2 separate regions of the Homo sapiens genome follow, and region 1 is linked to region 2. The links are contacts of gene promoters, found by promoter capture Hi-C in human tissues and cell types (Jung and others, 2019). All regions are on one chromosome and are shown on one strand. The core of a region is centred on a gene start or on the middle of the fragment in contact, and the rest is flanking DNA. Distances in the headings are between cores, read along the strand shown. Region 1 holds the start of TRIM55 (tripartite motif containing 55). Region 2 overlaps LOC102724687 (a long non-coding RNA gene).

Region 1 (3,508 bases), core at 119-2,618, 250 kb after region 2:
GAAGAGTGGAAGAGTGTTACCTGGTGGACTCCTGCTTGTAGATGTCAATGATATTTTCCACCAGCAGGTTCCTCTGAAGTCCATATACCCCATGTCTATCCAAAACCACTTCATGTCTACAGGATGGGCAGCGGAATCGGCCCCCTGATGCCATGGTGGTACCTCCTCTTGTGGGCAAATACGGGTTAGAGGCCTGTTCTTGCCAAGTAAGAAAAAAGGAATTGGGTAATGCCACAAGCAGCTTCTCTGAGACTTATTTTCACTCTCTGCTACTACAAACAACATGAACTTCTACTTTAAGCTTGCCATAAGATCATCCCTCAGGGCTTTCTCAGCAAGTGGTCCTGAAACACAGGGTCAGACCTTATCCACAGTCATCTGCGAATATACCATTGTCCACGTAAGGTGCTTTTCCGTCCACCACTTTCAGAACCAAAAGTTCCAGCCAGAAACTCCACACTCATGTCTTCAGCAGTTACTCATTTATAGTTTTGAAACACATTAAATGGTTTGACTTAAAAAAAAATATGATTCTTAGTATTAAAATAAAACTAGATTTGGGAGTAAAGAGGACACAAACCAAATCATTAAAAGAAACGTGTTTTTCTTGAAAGTAAATGCAACTTTATAAAGTTTTTTTGTTTGTTTGTTTTTCTTTTTTTGAGACAGAGTCTTGCTCTGTTGCCCAGGCCGGAGGGCAATGGCACGATCTCCGCTCGCTGCAATGTCCGCCTCCTGGGTTCAAGCAATTCTCCTGCCTCAGCCTCCCAAGTACCTGAGATTATAGGTGCCCGCCACCATGCCCAGCTAATTTTTTTTTTTTTGTATTTTTAGTGGAGATGGGGTTTTGCCATGTTGGCCAGCCTGGTCTCGAAGGCCTGACCTCAGGTGATCCACTGGCCTCAGCCTCCCAAAGTGCTGGGACTACAGGCGTGAGCCAAAGCGCCCGGCAACCTTATAAAGTTTTTTAAAGGATTTCACCTCAATGTTAAGCACTTGATTCCAAGAGGAGGGAATCTTTTCCACCCCCTCCCCTCAACCAAATTCCAAACAAACCTACCTGGAAAATATCACTGGCACATTTCCTACACAGGTTGTGCTGACAAGGGAGAATCACCACAGGTTTCGTGAACATCTCTAAGCAGATGGGACAGATGAGTTGCTTCTCTAAGTTATCCATGGTCTGCTGCTCTTTGGAAAAAGATTTGTAATTCAGAGATGCGCTCATCTCCTCGCTGTCCCCAAGTGTGCTGCCAGGGAAGGGTGCTGCGAGTGGCTCCAGCAAGTGTTTCCTGGATATTATTCCAGGGATTGTGTGATCAAGTGTCCTTTACGTTTCTCTCGGTGGAGGACATTGTTTCAGGCCCTGGTTTGGAGTGGGTGCTGGAGCTGTTTTTAGCAGCCTGCGGTCACGTGACGGTGGGCTGACGTGTCCATATAAGCCAGTGACAGGAGGATGGATCCTGACAGGTGACGGAGAGCAGGAGTCAACATTCTTGCCCCAGGGAGTGAAGAGAGTGGGTGGGAAGGAGGATTACAAACCCCATTTAGACGGGGTTGTGAGGAGAAGGAGGTCGAAGCTGACAGTTGTCAACAACAAATGCAAATGTGCATGCCTAGCCACTGAACCATGCCCTCTGTGAGCACTCACTGAGAACTTGGCGATGGCTTCTCCAGGAAGGGGCAGAACGCAGCACAGAGTCTGTGTAACTAATGCCAGCCCTGTCTTGAGAGTGTAGGAATTGAGTCACGGAAAGTAGCCTAATAGCACCTTCTTAGGTGAAAATGAACAAAACATGTCTCGAAAATTGTTATCCTGGCTTCACAAAGGCAATCATCAAAAAGACTTTCTTAATGTTAAGTATTTCATCTTTGTCAGCTGGGGTTGTGGTCTTTGAAAAATTCCAATTTAAAAGCTAAATTCAAATCCCTTCACCATAAAGGTATCCACCTAATAAATAAATAAATACATGCATAAATAAAAATTCAAAACCAGTGGATGATCTAATTATTTGAGAAAAAAGTTACATTATAAAACAACTCTAGTATGCTGTTTGCTCTTCCACATTGCTTTCCTCTTCCTTGGCCCTCTTTCATCCTATACTGCCCCACCTCCTACATACACCCAAAAACACAAAGAAAATTTGATAGTCTTTTACTGATTATTTAAATTCTTAAATTATATAATAGTTTGCAACAATAATCTGTAATGAGGTAGTAACTGGCAGGCACCTGGAGGTGGCAGATCTATTATTTTATTTTGTCATCCCTTGGGGGACAGTTACCAGTGCCATTGACAACTGAAGTATAAATGGAGTCCTACTTCCATATCTGCATTTCATCTGCCTCCAAAATACCTATTCTCCCTTGCATTTCCCCTTCCTCCAAGGTGACTTGTTAAACCATAGTTTCTCTGGTCATTTCTGATATTCTTGGTCTGCTCTTGAGTCATAAACATCGATTCTGACATTCATCAGGATTTTGTGAAGCAACAGTTTAACCAATACATATTGTATTTAAAAATGTTTAAATCAGATCAAAAATAAAAAAGAAATCCAAGTCTGTTTATATGTGATAAATTTCGGCTTTCTTTCTCCTTCATTTTAAAAACCTTGGGCAATAAACACATTTTGTTAACATATCCCTGGTGTGAATTAAATTACCAGTGAAGTGTAGGTCAGTTATGTGTGGTCTTAGTGCTGTGTGCACGGAGAGCTTATTGAGAATCTAGTAAGCTCTATTAACTAATAATAAGTTATATATATTCATAAGCATATCAGGGATCTTTAGAGAATTATCTTAGTCCTTTCAATATTTATTTAGCAACTACAGGGAGGACGGGAACTGGTAAAGTTTTTTTACTGAGTTACTTTGGTTCACCCAGCCTAGGCAGTTAATTGTGTTTATCAATTCATGGGCTATGGAGGGGAGGTCTGAGTACAATATGTGGGATATTTTCTAGGAAAGATTAAGTTTCTACTGCAAAAGACCTTGCTATCTAAGTAAAAGCACTTAGACTAATCATGCACATTGCAGCAGAGTCTTTTCTTTTAGAAGGAATTCATTCCTTCAAAATACATTCATTGGATATGTGTAGTGTGTCTCCATTGTGTGAGGCTCTGGGTATTGAAAGATGAACAAGACATAGGTCATTGGCCTCAAGGAGCTCAGTATAAGAGTGGAGATGAGACATGCACACACAGAACATAGTACAAAATAAAATGTGATAAAGAGTACAAGCCAAAAAGTACCTGAGACAGGTCTCAATCGAGAAAGTTTGTTTTGTCAAGGTTAAGGGCGCGTGCCAGGAGGCAGGCCTGCATCTTTCTCCAAAGAAGATTTCGAAGGCTTTAATATTTAAAGGGAAAAGAATGGATATTGGGGAAAGAGAAAAAAAATTTCAGTTGTGGGTAGATAAGAGGCAAACAGTTGCATTCTTCTGAGTCTTTGATCAGCCTTTCACCAAATACATAATTTACATGTTGGGGCTGGGCGGTGGGTAGAGGAA
Region 2 (3,095 bases), core at 551-3,050:
AAAAATTTATTAGTTTTTTTCTTAATACAAAAATGGCATATTAATTGTAGAAAATTTATGAAGTGCATACAGTGAAAAAATTAATTATAATCCAATCATCAAGATACTGACATTTACATTTTAATAGCAGTCCTCAATTATTTACAAATATGTATAAAGTGTGTGTGTGCGTGTGCACACACATGCATGAGAGTGTGTATGTTTGCAGGTTGCTCAATGCATACTGCTTTGCAACCTACCTTTTTTCCAGGGAAGATTTCTTTTTTGAGAGGGCTGGATAGAGAACAGTGACAAAAAATGTTCTAAAATTTCTTCCTTTAGTGTTGCTTCTGAAAGATGTCAAGATTAGGATTGAGAATTGTGGTCATTGAACAGACTCATCCTCTCTTTCATGCATGTATAACCCAGTGTTCCCTCCATCCTGACTGGCCGAAGTGTATGGTCTAAGGTTCCATGAACTTAGTGACACTTAGCCCCTAAGTGCCCATGTTGGCAGGTAGCCCAGACTTTGCAACTCTGGGGCCCACTAAAGATTGATTCCTTCTTTACCCTGTATCTTCACTCGCCTTCTCTCCAATGGCTGATTTCCATCAGCATTCAAACATGCTCAAGCCTCTCTATTCATCACTCATCACCTTGGTTCTTTCTTCAACATATTCTACTCAGTAAATGGCATCCACAGAGTTGCTCAGGTCAAAAAGCTAGGACTCAATCTTAATTCTTGTTTTCCTTTCTCCTACGTTCAATCCGTGAACAAATTCTGCAGGCTTTATCTCTAGAGAGTACCTCTGATGCCTCTACTTTTCTGCATCTTCACTGTTACCACTCTAGAGTAAGCCACGATTGATATTTGCCTAGATATGCGAGTAGTCTGCTTAACTAGTTTCTCTACAGCCTCTTCTCCACATAGCAGCCAGTGAAGCCTCTGACAAACCCAAGCCCAATATGTCTTTCCTCTGCAGAAAGCCCATCAATGGCTTCCTGCACATTGAGAAGAATACTACATTCTTTATCATAACCTACAAGGCCCCTTCATAGGCAGGTTCTGTCCACATTTCTGCATTTGCCTCATTTACTTTCTCCTTCATTTGCTCTGGCTTTTTTACGGTTTTTTGAAAATTCCCATTTCTTTTGCTGCAAAGGAAGCTTCATCAGGGAAGAGACTGTGACTGTCTTCTTCATTGCTGAAGCATCACTGTCTATCCCAGTTCCTTGAGCACAATAAGTATTCTATGCGTGTTTTTTAACAAGTAGATGAATTTATGACCTAGTGAGGATGATCAAAATAAGTGCATAATCTTTAAAAATGCAAAGTCAAATGTGGTAAGTTTCTTAAGAGAGACTTGATTTAAGTAGTCTGGGAATTTATGGAGGGGTGCTGTGGTTTGAATTTTATGTCTCTTCAAAATTCACGTTGAAACCAAATCCCCAATTTGGTGACATTAAGAGGTGGGCCTTTAGGAAGTGATTAGGTCATAAGGGTTCCACACTCATGAATGGGATTAGTGCAACTGTAAAAGAGGCTTGGGCCAGGCATGGTGGCTCATGCCTGTAATCCCAGCACTTCGGGAGGCCGAGGTGGGCAGATCACTTGAGGCCAGGAGTTTGAGACCAGCCTGGCCAATGTGGTGAAACTCCATCTTTACTAAAAATACAAAAATTAATGGACATGTTGGTGCACACCTATAGTCCCAGCTACTCGGGAGGCTGAGGCACGAGCATCTCTTGAATCTGGGAGGTGGAGGTTGCAGTGAGCTGAGATCATGCCACTGCATCCAGCAGCTTGGGCAACAGCAAGACTCCGTCTCAAAAAAAAAAAAAAAAAAAAAAAAGAGGCTTGAAAGAGCCTGTTTCCCCTTCTCCTATGTGAGGACACATCTATGAGGAAAAGGCCTTCACCAGACACTGAATCTGCTGGCACCTTGATCTTGGACTTCCAGTCTCCAGAACTGTGGACAATAAATTTCTGTTGTTTATAAATTACCCAGTTTAAGGCATTTTGTTATAGCAGCTTGAGCAGATTAAGACAAGGATGTGCTTACTCTGGATGGCAGTCACTGAGGACTTATGGATGAGGAAATATTTGAGCTGGATATCAAGGGTACATAAGACTCTCCAGGCTCGAGTAAAGCAGCAGAGTCTGGAGAGGGGGACAACTAATCCAGAGGAATCAGGAAATAAAGTATATGTAACATACCTGTACAGATTAGGGCTGGAAAGGTAATTCTGGATCTGATCATGTGGTGTCTGTTCTGGTCATGCTGAACATGCTAGGCTAAAATGTTTAGACAGTTCATCTCATGAAGGAAGCACCTCCCTATGCCCCAGGGAGCAAAATGATCACAGACATAAGGAGAAACATTGGTTCATGTTCTTAGATGGTCAACAGTGGAATGAATGAAAAAAGAAGGAACAGATGTGAGGTTTACCCTTTAAAAACCATCAATAGGAATTGGTAACTGATAGAAAGTGACTAAGTATGAGATGAAAAACCAAATGCAGACTTGAGCTTGGGTGACTCAGAAAATTGATAGAAATAGAAAATCATGAAAAAAGGATTTTTTGTGTGTGTGTGTGTGACAGAGTCTCACTCTGTCACCCAGGCTGGAGTGCAGTGGTGCGATCTTGGCTCACTGCAACCTCCACTTCTCTAGGTTCAAGTAATTCTCCTGCCTCAGCCTCCTGAGTAGCTGGGATTACAGGCATGAACCACCATGCCTGGCTAGCTTCTGTATTTTTCGTAGAGATGGGGTTTTGCCATGTTGTCTAGGCTGGTCTCAAACTTCTGATCTCAGGTGATCCACATGCCTTGGTCTCCTAAAGTGTTAGGATTACAGCTGTGAGCTACCATGCCTGGCCTGGGTTGAATCTTGTTGAGTTTAAGGTAGCAATGAGCCATCCAGTTTGTGATGGAATTTGGGAGTAGAGGAAAGATAGAGATATAATTTTCACTAATTAATTCATTTGTCCAGTGATTATTTCTTGAGCATCTAGCATATGCCAAGTATGGTATCAGGCATTGGGAAAAGCATAAATCCTGTCCCTAGGAGTTCCCTTTTTCTATATCTAGCTTTTTGACCCAGAAAGACATGCCT

What was found. Contacts are between HindIII fragments. The study calls those that stand out against the background at their distance.
Region 1: a contact is called between the fragment with the promoter of TRIM55 here and a fragment that was not itself captured in region 2, in 1 of the 25 tissues and cell types used here (lymphoblastoid cells).

What each region holds. Positions count from the first base shown.
Region 1 is chr8:66,124,989-66,128,496 of GRCh38, reverse strand. It overlaps TRIM55 (tripartite motif containing 55), which reads right to left and starts at 1,368. Exons shown (of 10, transcript NM_184085.2): 1 at 1,061-1,368; 2 at 21-193. The coding sequence starts at 1,228. RefSeq lists a silencer at 1,550-1,822. The HindIII fragment of the contact is 11,068 bases long and covers 1-3,508 here.
Region 2 is chr8:66,370,946-66,374,040 of GRCh38, reverse strand. The region is part of intron 1 of LOC102724687 (a long non-coding RNA gene); the gene reads left to right. Among named protein-coding and RNA genes, the nearest start is that of RRS1-DT, 56 kb to the left of the region's middle. The HindIII fragment of the contact is 6,849 bases long and covers 1-3,095 here.